2 separate regions of the Homo sapiens genome follow, and region 2 is linked to region 1. Evidence: promoter capture Hi-C in 16 types of primary human blood cells and fetal thymus (Javierre and others, 2016). All regions are on one chromosome and are shown on one strand. Each heading gives the region's core, a stretch centred on a gene start or on the middle of the fragment in contact. The rest is flanking DNA. Distances are from core to core; before and after follow the strand shown.

Region 1 (6,375 bases), core at 1-2,500:
CTCGGGAGGCCTTTCCCGTTGCGCCACGCCGCCCTTCCGCCCCGGCGAGCGCCTTCGAGACCTGGGGCTATTTGGGAACAAAGCCCTAGGCCCCGGGGCTGGCTCCCCTCGCGCGCTCCCGTCCTACCTGCGTGGAGCAGCCCGAGGCTGAACAGCAGCAGCAGCAGCAGCTCCAGCGGCGGGGGGCAGAGCCCGGGGCTGCGGCGCTGCTCAACCTCGGCGGCGGCAGCGGCGGCGCTGGAAGGTGCTGCTCTCAAGCCCATGCCCGTCCATGCAGGTCTCGTGGGCTCCGGCGAGGGCGGCGGCGCGGGCGCCGTGGCGGGTCTGGGCCCGTGGCTGCGGCATGGGCCGGGGGGCGCGCTTCGCTTCCTCTTCTTCCTTCTTCAGGCCCGTGTAGCAGATGGGGCGCCACCACCGCCGCAGCAAGCAGCGCGCAGCCGGCGCAGCCAGTCCGCGGCGGCAGCAGCGGGGCGCAGGGGCATCGTGGCGGCCGGAGGCGGCAGGCAGGGAAAGGGGCGGAAGAGAAGACACAAAGACCGTGAGCGACTGCTGAGACGAGTCCCGAGCGCGCCGGCACCCCGGCCCCAGCCAGCGTGGGCTCGGCGGGCGTGGACCTCCAAGAGGCTGGCCCAGCCCTAGCGACCACCCACCGGCGGCCCGGATATCTCTGCGCGGCAGCCCCCGCGGTCGATCAATCTCAGTCCCGCACTGCCGTCCCGCCCCGCCCTGTGCCCGCCAATCCACGACGCCATAATCCCCCGCCGTGTCCCTCCCTTCCTCCCCATTGGTTGTGACCGCACGTCAGCCCGACTCAGCCTGCCAATCGCAGGACCCAGAGGGCCCTCTCCCCCGCCCGCTCAGTGTAATTCGAGTTCCCTGTCCATCGACTCCAAGTCCTCTCTCCTGCGCCGCATGCTGCCTCGCGCTCCCTTTCCTTCCCCCTCTACCCCCTTCCGCGATTTACTGTTTCCTCGCGCCCAACAGAAATGGGCGACCGCAAGTCTTACTCTCGCCGGCGTTACAAAGGTACCGGCCTTTGACCTCTCCTTGAATTAATGTGATCCGATTCATCTTCCCTCCAAGTTTTTTTTTTAATTTAATTACCCCTCCCTGCCCTGGCCCTGCCAGCTTCAGCTCCACCTCCTTGGAGGAAGCAGGCGCTTTTACAGAGCGCCGCGCGGCAGGTCCCCTTTCAGCCAATCACATCTGCGGAACCGCGTTCCGAGTCGTTTGAGGGTGTCTGGTAAAGCAAGCTCGGGGCGGTGTTGGAAATCTGAATGTCACCCGCGGTCCGGAGCAGATAGGATGGGCTGGGAAGGTACCCGCGAACTGCCGCCGGAATTCGCTGGCAGCTGTGCGAGGCTCAGGTGTTCTAGTTTGACATTTCCCTTCCTGAAAGCGGCAAGGAGAGGTCTAAGAGTGGGCAAACTTCAACGTTCGGTTACAGTGTAATTAATGAGAGTGGTGGGTTTTTATGCAGTGTAATTATGCCACGATTTGTTGTTGCTCAGTGGCTTTTTCACAAATTTCTACAGATTATTTAAATTTTCCACAAATTTCTACGGATTAATTCAATGGCAGCTCACTTTCTCCTTTTATGATCGGATGGGTCCGAAAGTGAGGAAAAAGACAATTGTCTACAAAGAAAGAGGCTGCCAAGTGGAGACAGAAAAGCAGTTATGAGACTGATGATAGATTCCAATTTGTTATCGGTAGGTGTGAAGTGGTATCTAATCTCAAGAATGACCTCAAGGCTGAGAGACACTTGATACCGCCCTCGCCTTTGCCTTTCCCCAAACAGCACAGGGTTGCCATTTAAAATCCACTAACATCCAAATCGTAGTTGGCAACTGTACCCGCTATGTTACTCAGAATCTCTAATTAGGAATTTCTTATCAACCACGGACATGCTGATATTCCACACATGTTTAAATGAGCTAATCAATGGACTAGGATAATTGAGGGGCAAACCTTCAGTCTCACCAGCTCACTTATTAGACACATTTTGAATTGCCCAAACCACTAGGTCCCTAATGAAGGATGCCTATCTGTTTTTACTGTAACTTTTCATTACTTACTTGTTACATACTATGATGACTTAAGGGGTAAACACACCTTTCACTATCCACAATATAATCCAAGCCTGTGTATATCCATAATACGCTTAATAATAGCTTCACAGTTGCCTGGAGAAATGACTTTTGGGGAGGAAGTTATATGACATTTTTAGATAATGCTGCGGACTAAGTATTATTAGAGCAAAAATTTACTATCTTGCAATTACTTCATATAATTAGATACAGTTCATGACATACTAAGAAGCATCTTAAAAAAGTAATCAAACATAATACTGATTTTCAAAGTATTTGGCTAACAAAGACTACATTTTTTTCTCTTAACCCAAGATTTAATTCGACCCCTATAAAAGCAGCATCTCACTTTATTGATCATACTTCAAAGCATATACTCAATAGTTAAGGATCAATAATTTCTGTTTGGTTTGGGTCTTTCCACTCGTGACTTTCTATGATTTTTTACTCCCCTCCCCCTATATCCTGTTCCATAAGTACACGGGTGCTCTAGATTTTCCTATCAATAGAGGGCGTCCTCGAGTCATTGCAAATCCTGGTGTCGTTAAACGGAACTGTTCTTCAGAGGAAAAACTTCATCTCTATAAGGTGCTTTATTGCTCCTCTGTTGTAAAATTTGACAAGCTCGAGATTTATAAGCCTAACAATTCACTTTTTATTGCTGCATAAGTGTTCAGCCGCTAGAGGAAAATGCTAATTTTCACAAGTAAACCGCAAGGTGGTTCCTATTTTCAAGACATAGGTCAGTTGACACACTCGCGGGTAAATTCGTACTGTTCACAAGATCAGGAATTGGCTTGGAAAGCAAGAGCGTAGTGAATAGTCGCTTATACCGCAGCCACTCCTCAAGCCCGTGAGCTGCAAGTTACAAACGACTTTATATTGTACAAAGAAAAATCGGGGAGGGAGCTAGAACACAAACAAAAAAATCGGTGACTTATAAAAGTTTTATGTTTTAATCAGAAAAAAAATCATGAAGTGGCTGATGACTTGTGTAATTCACACATCCACCCTGTTTCTTGCCACTGGTACTCTTTCTCCCTTTCTCTTTGTTTTCAGAAAGGAAGGAGGAGACCTGAACAGTACATCCGGAGAATCCAGCAAAGCATACTACGGCATGAACGTGCAAGTGGACAGAATTAAAACACATGCCAGAAACACTAATGGATTCTAAACAAGATGCAGTTTCATTTCCTGAGCCTATACGTGATGTTTTTAACTGTTCTCCAGTTAATATGTCTCCATTTCCAGAAATCTAACAGGAGAATCTCTGACTGCTTAACAGATCACCTAAGCTTGCGATTTGTGCAATCCTTTCTAGAGTAAGGGCTCCCCGGCTGCTCCCCGGCCACTGTGTACCCAAAGCAGCGGCTGAAATAGCCCGGAGTCCAACAGCTCAGCGTCAAGCAGCTCGTGGTTTGTACTTACATCATTTTTTTTTTCAGAGCAAGAGTGAAAGTTTATTAAAAAGCGTTAGAACAGTAAGGAAAGGAAAGGAGAGAAAATAAGGAAAGTACAACTTGGAAGAGGGCCAAGCGGGCGACTTGAGAAATCAAGTGCCTGTACTTACATCATTCTTAACCCTTTCGCTCCTGGAGGGGGCTCAGCGGGATCAGGGGGCCCCTGAACTTCGGAACACGCAGGACCTGGGTGTGAGAGAAGAGTCCCAAAGCTTGGCGTGAGCAATGCACTCGCGGAGGGAGAGAGCCCGGGGCTTGCGGGGGGCTCATCACCCGCTCGTAGACAACGGGCCCCCGCAATCCCTGCGGGCTCCGCCGCTGCTCTCACCGCTCAAAACGGCAGGTGCAAAAAGCATTTGGGAGCCGCTTGCCAGCGCGCGGAGGTAATGCGCTTCCTGTCCATTTATCTCAGGAAACCAGTGCAGCCTTCCCTTCGAAACAAAATTAACCTCTCATTAGCCAGCCACTCGCTCCCAAGAAGGCCTTAAAAGCTTTACCAGCTCGCTAATGTATTTAGGCTTTTCTTCCAGGCAAACGCAGCCGCCGGTCTTGACTGCCATCGCCCAAGGGGTTCCTCTGGGCTCTCCCGCGAGCCAACAGCCGACCTCTCTCCAGCCTAGTCTGGGAAACTCCAGCCAACCCAGGATCCCATTTTGTAGTCCCGGGCAGACCCGAAACCCCTGAAAGAACTCCACTCCAGAAGACGCCAGAACAAGTTCCCACGAATTTCATGGGCGCCCTTCACATGAAAACCTCAGCTCCCCTATCCTCAAGGAACGGGGAAGGGCGCCGGGGAGGGACTTCGGTGGCCAGCTGTCCCTGGGTCGTGGGCGCTGTTTGCTCTGCGGAGCGCCAGCCCTGCACACAGCGGGTGCGGGAAGCGTTGATGGGAGGCTGGAGGGCGGGGTGAGCGTAAACTAGGATCTAGCCGGTTCCAGGCGTGGAGAATCAAATGTGGTCCTAGATCTGTAAGTTGCGAAAAGGGGCTTTTGGGAGCGTCAGAGCTTTCTCACTCCGGTCCCCCGCCGCCTTGAGGCTGGCAGATTTATACCCCACAGGTGGATGGAGACCTAAACAAAACAGTCCCGGCCGCTGCCTGCCGCTCGCCCCCCACGTCCCCCGGGCCCACCGCAAACTTCAACAAAATAAACAACTCACCACAGGCATTCCCTTGTCTGCAGCGCGACGCTTGCCAGCTGGGAAAATAAGCCGCAAGCCACGCGGCCGAGGCGCGGAGGGAAGGCAGCGCGGCGCCCGCCCCTCTCCCCCAGGTGGGGGGCAGCGCGACTCGGGGCGGGAGGGAGGCTCCGCCTCGGGGGCCGCTCTCCCAGTTCTCCGACTCCAGAATGAGCTCTGGGAGAGGAGCTGCGCCCTTCCAGCTAGCCCGATTTCTCCGCCATCTAGGGGAGAGGGCGGGGAGCCAAATCCCTCAGCCCCCCGCACCCCAGCAGCTTCCTCCAGGCAGCTTTCTCCCCAGTCAGCCTCAAATAGAGGTGAACAGAGACCCTCCTCTCCCCCCGGCAACCCCTATATCGCCACACTGCCCCCTGCCGGCGCTATCCGGCTCATTCCGGCACTGCGGACGGCTGGGGGCGTGGGGGCGTAGGGGCGCCGCAGACCCCCGCGTCCAGGTCCTGGATCAGTTCTCTCTTCGCCTTCCCCCCACCACACTCAATCTTGCACAAAGACGCCTTTCACGCCGCCAGCGCCACCCTCCGCGCCGCCCTCCGGGCCGGCGGCGCTGCCTTCGCCCACCCGCGGCACCAGCCGATTCCTGGTGGGCGATTGTGCCACTCGTCGCCAGGCAGGGCGGCAGCGGACGCGTGCGGGCTGTTCCCACTCCGCGCCCCGGCCAAGGCGCCAGATGCGCTGCCCCCCGCCACGTTCTCTAGCTGCCCGCCGGCAGCCGCAGAATGCACACCTTTCTCTCCGTAAATGATCCTTAAGGGTCTTCCAAGTGTTTCTAAAATGGGTACAGTGGCGGGAATGGTCCGCTGGACTTTCGCCGAAATAAGGAATCCAGCGATCTTACCTGACCACCTAAGGTGCCAGTGTGCCTTTACAGCTTAAGAAAGCCAAAGATAAAGATTTGGAAATAAAGAGGGGAGAGAGGGTTTAAAGAGACACCTAAGGCCCAGAGCAAGTGTGTTACAAAGAATGAGCCCACGAAATGTTCGAGGGAGGACGGTCGCTTCGATCAGCGTGGAAGGCGTGGAGGGCAAGAAGAAAGGGATTAACTTTCTACCTTACATTGATCTTCCAAAGTAGAAAAACAAACAAACAAAAAACATCCCAGATACTCAGCGGCAGCTAATTGGCGCGTTCAACGCCTGGAACTAGCGGGCTACTTCTCTTAGTCAAGTCAAATGCTCAAGTATCCTGACTCAGGGAGGTCACTTCTTGCCTCCTTAGGCAAGAATCTACGACCCTCTCCAGCTTTTCTTTGCCTTCTCCTCCCCTAACCCCTCCTTACAGTTTCTCCGGCTAACGCTAGAGGCAGCATAGGGCAGTGTAAAGAGGACGAGTGGGAATCCACAGAGGAAGGTCTAGTCCTGACTTTCTGGGTCTGGGCTTTAGGCAACTGATTTAACGTCTTTGGACCTTGGGGTCACTATCAAGAAAGGATGTGTAAGAGGCATTAATTAGTAAAATTTACATATCCTTCTCTTTCTTAAATTCGATGACAATGAACGCCCTTCCTCCAAACCTCTGCAGGTTCCTCCTTAGTATTTTTTTCACCTTGCTTTATCTTCTCCAAGTGCCAGTCAAATGGAAAAAAACATACTGAGATTGTTTCAAGGTAAATGTAAGACACATTGAAACAT
Region 2 (6,752 bases), core at 3,155-5,654, 3.2 Mb after region 1:
ATACCTTAAAATGCACATCTTTTATATTAAAACAATTTTATTGAGGCCAAATACAACTATTCTACTTTTAGGTATAATCTTTTAAACTGTGAATATATTTTCAGTGTGTAGCCACTTTCTCCCATTCATATTAAGGATGTTCATACCTGCGCGTGATGGGCAACAAATTGGAGAGTTTGTGTAGGCATTCAGAAAGGAAGTCCCACGTGTCTTCATAAAGTTGATAAAAGGAAGTTTCACTACCTGACTTCCTGGATGAAATGTTAACCTTCCATCCTGGAAATAAAGAAATTTAATTAGCATTGATTACATTACCAAAGAAGAAAATTATTTTCTTTAACCATAAAATTTACAATAGCAGAAGACTTCAATATGATTTTAAGAATCCTCCAAAGATAAAAACAAAACAAGTATAGAGGGTGTTTCCAGTATCTGGTACATAAATAGCTAGAATTCAGTGCAGCGTTACACTTGGATTCATTTAACTACAGTAAATAAAGGACTTCCTGGAATGTTCTTTTGGGGGATGATGAACTGACTAAGTATTTATTGAATACTTAACTATGTGCCAGACACTGCAAAATCTGAGGATGCAATGGTGAATAAAACAGAGTCTTAGGCCCCATGAAGCTTACAGTCTAGTGGGAGAGGCAAAAAGTATACTGGCAAATAAACTATGAATAATTACAAATTATGACGTGTGCTTTGAAAAAAATCCGAGATACAGAAGGACAAGAGAGACCTACGTTAGACAGTGTGGACAGGGAAGCCTTCTCTGGGATGTATGAGACCTAAAGAATGAACAGGATCCAGCTATTCAAAGAATTTAAAGGACATACAAAGTTTGAGATATCTGTGAGATGGAAGTGGTGATATCAATTAGGCAGCTGGGGTGGGGTGTGGTGGCTCATGCCTATAATCCCAGCACTTTGGGAGGCTGAGGTGGGAGGATAGCTTGAGCTCAGGAGGTCAAGACCAGCCTGGGCAACACAGGGAGACCCTGTTTCTACAAAAAAAAATTAGGCAGCTTGATAAGTGAGTCTGAAGATTAGGAGATGTTTGGGTTGGAGATATGCATTTTGGAGATGAACTGGGAATTGAAGAACTCACGTTGGTAAAGAGCAAGAACAGAAAAAAGAATGTTCCAGTCCTGGAGTTCTATCTATTATATGTTTTCAACATAATTATAAATAAATTCCAGTTTAGAACATGAGCCAACCCAAAATATAGAATATATCTAAATCCTTGAGATAGCTGAGATTCCCAAATAGAGATATAAAGTAGGCTGTTGGATACAGATAGGAATCTGGAGTTGAGAGAAGTCTATCTTGGCGAAATAAAACTTGGGAGTATTTAACATATTCATGGTTTTGAAAACTGTGAGATTAAATAAAACCTTTCAGGGAGAGAGAAGGAGGGGAAAGAAAAGGGTCTAGAGGAAGCTATAAGGAGTCCCAAATAAGAGGGGAAACAGCATGGGAAACTGAGAAAGAATGGCCAAGGGAGGAAGATGTGAGGAGACCGAGTGCCATGACAGCTGAGAGAAGGCAGTGTGCCAAGAAAGAGGTAACATCTGCTGTGTTGAGAATGCACCTGAAATGAGGCCAGAAAATGCACATTGGAATTGGCAGTATGGAGACAGCTGGTGACCCTGACAAGAGCACTTTCGATGCGTGGTAAAGATGAACAGCTAAACTGGAAAGGGGAAGGAATGGGAGGCAGGAAAGTGAGGCAGCAGGGGGAAAAAAGAAAAGCTCTTCTGAGAAGTTATTTTGCAAAGCAAAACAGAAAAACGGGAGGGATGTTAGAGAATGGTGTGTTAGCTGGAAGAAAATGTGGGATTAAAGTCAGTTCTTTTTTTAAGATGGGGAAAATTATGCATGTCTTATGTCAAAATAAATTACCACTTCTAGCAAGAGTAATCATTGAATGCTAAGCAAATAACTACTGATTTCCTCAATGATGAGCTAGAAAGGCGAAGACAAAAGTGCATAGTGGCCAGGCACAGTGGCTCATGCCTGTAATCCCAGCTCTTTGGGAGGCTGAGGCAGGCAGATCACCTGAGGTCAGGAGTTCAAAGCCAGTCAGGCCAACATGGTGAAACCTTGTCTCTACTAAAAATACAAAAATTAGCTAGGCGTGGTGGCAGGTGCCTGTGATCCCAGCTACTCGGGAGGCTGAGGCAAGAGAATCACTTGAATCCGGGAAGCAGAGGTTGCAGTGAGCTGAGATGGCGCCACTGCACTCCAGCATGAGTGACAGAGCAAGACTCCATCTCAAAAAAAAAAAAAAAAAAAAAAGTGCATAGCCCTCCCTCATGAGAATTTCTTTAAGCCCTTAAATTCAAATTCTCAGAAATTTATCCTCACAAATTCCAAATGTATATATGTCTTATGGTTACAATCTTTTGAACATGGGGAGATAACAATTTGTGGCCACTGCCTAGAATCTAGACAACCCAGGCTTATCTGGTTGGGGGATGGAGCAGAAGGTCACAAGGTAGAACTGTCTTAAAGGTGCTATATAATTCACATATTGGGATTTGGACTCCAAGTCCTGCAGGCTAGGTTCAAATTGGTGTAACTACCACTGCAAATGACTACTGCAGCATATCAATAACTAATGTGTCAGATTAAAATCGATGTTAGTGATTTCTTGACTCATCTCTATGACTAGTACAGGGACATTATCTGTATCAAAAGCAGGCTGGAAAGCAGGACTCTTTGAAATATAGTGGCAGAGATAACCAGAAAGGGAGGGGGCGACTGCCGTCATGTGGGAAAGTTCCCAACGATTCCATCAGTGAAAGGTGATCTATGTTAAGATTGCTGTCTGAGATATATATAAGGCAGTGAGCGGTATGCAAATATTCAGTGAATGAAATGAAATGAATCTCTAATCCAGAGATTTGTTCAATTTAAAAAAGAAGACAAATTTATGCTCAAAATTCAACAGTGTATTTTTGCAAAGCTTAATAAACTGGATTAAGCATATCAATTGCAAAATTTGGTTCCTAGGAAATATTTAAATTATGATATACATATTCTCAATATCAGAAATATCAATAATACTCTAAACGAAGACCAAAATGTTATTAGAGAAAATATTTAAAAATTTTCTAGAAGTTTTGGTTTTTGACTTCATGTAGTTTTTACACACTAACAAATCATTTAAAAACTAGGCTACTACTAGTACTGCTGATAATGGTATCAATGGGAGACGGTCAGTAGAATATTTCATTCTGAACTGAAAGGCATCTTAACACAGCTGGCTGATGAAAAAGAGAGAAAGTAAGTTTTCCATAGTATGTTAATGTGGTTTACAATGGATAGCCAGTTATAAGTGAAAACACAGTTCTGTCAAATTTAGTTGGCAGAGAAAATCTTGAAAAATGGCTTTTGTTATAACTTCTATAACTTACTAATAGCCCATTTCAATTTTCTCAAGGCCATTCCTATGGTTCAAACAAATTAAGCACTCTAAAATTGGGCATTTAAGAAATAAAAATGACCCATTAATTGGCTTTCTGCAAAAGTTACAGAAATGGTACCAACTGCCTTTAGTTGCTGCATTCTGCTCTTGTTAATTAATTCTCATGGGTCCACACATTTTTCCCCCTTGGGGTGGGTAAGTCTTTTTGTAGATACAATTTTGTGATTTTGATTGCTCCTTCTGAACCATGGCTTGTACTCGGTTCCTTATCATTATGGGCCATGCAGAATCAGAGAAGTTTAGGTTTGAATTAATCATCCTAATAAAAGAATGTAACAGCAACTTTAATTTGCCATGTCAGCATGGCAAGACTGCTTATAGTGTTCTTCCCAGATCTGTCCATCAGACTGAATGAGATTCTCACTAGACTCTCTAGTAAACACTCCTGTACCTACTCTCCCCTGCCACTCCTGAAACCTCAGCAAAACTAAAACTGATACAGGTGCAGTGGCAGGGAGTAGAGGTAGGAGTAGGAGTGGGGATGCAGAAGATGCCTCTGTCCTTTAAGACCCAGGCAGAGATGCTTCTTTTCTATTATTTATTTAATTTTAAATTTTTATTTATTTTTTTTGAGACAGAGACTCACCCTGTCACCAAGGCTGGAGTCCAGTGGCACAATCTCGGTTCACTGCAACCTCTGTATTCTAGGTTTAAGCGATTCTCCTGACTCAGCCTCCCGAGTAGCTGGGCAGGTGCCCACCACCATGCCTGGCTAATTTTTGTATTCTTAGTAGAGATGGGGTTTCACCATGTTGGCCAGGCTGGTCTCGAACTTCTGACCTCAGGTGATCTGCTCGCCGTGGCTTCCCAAAGTGCTGGTATTACAGGTGTGAACCACCGTGCCTAGCCTGTTTTCTGTTCTTTTAAAAATGGGTTTATTAAGATATAATTAACACACTAAACAACTCATCCATTTAAAGTGTACAATTCAATGGTTTTTAGTGTATTCAGAAAGCTGTGCAACCATTACCATAGTCGATTTTAGAATGTTCTCATCATCCCCAAAAGACATTCTGCACTCTTTAGCCATTACTCTCTATTTTCCTGAAGCCTAGGCAACCACTAACCTACTTTCCGGCTCTATGTTTGCTTTTTCTGGACATTTCATATGAATGGAATCATACAATATGTGGTCCTTTTTGACTAGCTTCTTTCATTTAGCATAATCTTTTTAAGTTTCATCTATATTGTAGCATATACCATATTTTTTATTGTTGAATAATATTACCAAATTTTATTTATCCATTTATCAATTGATGGGCATTTGGGTTGTTTATACTGTTTGGCCATTATGTATAATGAACATTATAATGCTATGAACATTCATGTAGAAGTTTTTGTGTAGACTTATATTTTCATTTCCCTTGAATATACACCTAGGAGTAAAACTGCTGGATTATACAGCAACTCTATGGTTAACCATTCGAGAAACTGCCAAACTGATTTCCAATGGCTGCGTGATCCTACCAGCAGGGTATGGGTTGCAATTCCTCCACATTGTTGCCATCTCTAGTTATTGTCTTTTTCATTATAACCATCCCAGTGGGTATAACTGGTGTCTCACTGTGGTTTTGATTTACATTTCCCGAATGATTAATGATGTTGAGCATCTTTTCATGTATTTATTTGTCATCTGCGTATCTTCTATGAAGAAATGTCTATTAAGATCTTTTGGCCGGGCATGGTGGTTCATGCCGGTAATCCCAGCACTTTGGGAGGCCTAGGCGGGTATATCCCAAGGTCAGGAGATCGAGACCATCCTGGCTAATACGGTGAAACCCCATCTCTACTAAAAATAAAAATTAAAAAATTATCTGGGTGTGGTGGCGGGCACCTGTAGTCCCAGCTACTCAGGAGACTGAGGCAGGAGAATGGCTTGAACCTGGGAGGCAGAAGTTGCAGTAAGCCGAGATTGCGCCACTGCACTCCGGCCTGGGTGACAGAGCGAGACTCCATTTCAAAAAAAAAAAAAAAAAAAAGATCTTTTGCCCATCTTTTAATTGCCTAATCCACAATCACAAAGACTTACACCTATGTTTTCTTGTAAGAGTTTTTTAGTTTTACATTTGATTAATCAATCAATTTACTTAAAGTTTTTTTTTGTGTGTTTGTGTATGGTGCAAGGCAGGGTCCAACTTCATTCATATTTTTTTTTTCCAGCACCATTTGTTTAAAAGATCATTCTTTCCCTATTAAATGGTCTTGGCACCCTTGTTAAAAAATCAATTTACTATAAATATGAGAGTTTATTTCTGGACTTTAGATCCTATTCCATTGATCTGTATGTCACCTATCCTTAAGCCAATAACATACTACATTGATTGGTGTAGTTAAGATATAAGCTTTAAAATTGGGAGGTGTATGTCTTTCAACTTTGTTCTTTTTATTTCAAGATTTATTTTTGGCTATTCTGGGTCCCTTGAATTACCATATGAATTTTAGGATGGGTTTTTCCATCTCTGCAGAAAAAAAAAAAGGTTCTAGGGATTTTGACAGGCATTGAATTGAATCTGTAGATCATTTTGGTGAGTACTGCTATATTAACAATATTAAATCTTCTGATCCATGAAAAGGGGATGTCTGTTCATTTATTTAAATGTTCTTTTATTTCTTTCAACAATGTTTTGTAGTTTTCGGAGTATAAGAACTATATTTCCTTGATTAGATTTATTTTAAGTATTTCATCCATTCTGATGTTACTTTAAATGGAACTGTTTTCTTAATTTGACTATAAGTGTGTTAATCAATTAAGTATATAAAATACAATTTATTTTTGTACACTGATCTGGTATACAGCCTTACTAATTTATTAGTTCAATAGTTTTGTAGTGGAGCCGTAGAATCCTACATACAAGATTACTGCAAGTATAGATACTTTTACTTCTTCCTTTCCAATGTGAATGCCTTTTATTTAATCTTTTTTCTAATTCTGTGGCTAGAACCCCCAGTACAATGCTGTATAGCAGTGGTGAGAACACACATCCTTGTCTTCTTCCTGATCTTAGTCAGAAAACTGATTTTTTTTTTCTTTTAACCATTCAGTGTAAAGTTCTGGCTTTTTTTGTAGATGCCTTTTAGTTCCCTTCTATTTCTAGCCAGTTGAATGCATAAGGATTGTCAAATCTTCTCAAATGCTTTTTCTGCATCTATTGAGATGATCACATGGGTTTTGTCCTTTATTCAGTCAACATGATGTATTACATTAATTGATTTTCAGATATTAAACTCACTGTACATTTTGGGGACAAATTCCACTTGGT

The links. Contacts are between HindIII fragments. The CHiCAGO score rates a contact against its expected background, and 5 or more counts as called.
Region 2: a contact is called between a fragment that was not itself captured here and the fragment with the promoter of RGMB-AS1 in region 1, in 1 of 17 cell types (total B cells). The highest score is 7.0, in total B cells.

Annotation. Positions count from the first base shown.
Region 1 is chr5:98,767,959-98,774,333 of GRCh38, reverse strand. RGMB-AS1 (RGMB antisense RNA 1) reads left to right here and starts at 1,250. Exons shown (of 2, transcript NR_033932.1): 1 at 1,250-1,712; 2 at 3,150-4,716. RGMB (repulsive guidance molecule BMP co-receptor b) reads right to left here and starts at 671. Exons shown (of 3, transcript NM_001366508.1): 1 at 128-671. The coding sequence starts at 263. RefSeq lists enhancers at 1-309, 1,045-1,094, 3,473-3,973, 5,685-6,375 and a silencer at 195-824. The HindIII fragment of the contact is 10,132 bases long and covers 1-3,387 here.
Region 2 is chr5:95,559,522-95,566,273 of GRCh38, reverse strand. ARSK (arylsulfatase family member K) reads right to left here. Exons shown (of 8, transcript NM_198150.3): 2 at 147-276. Among named protein-coding and RNA genes, the nearest start is that of ARSK, 7.8 kb to the right of the region's middle. The HindIII fragment of the contact is 2,864 bases long and covers 2,973-5,836 here.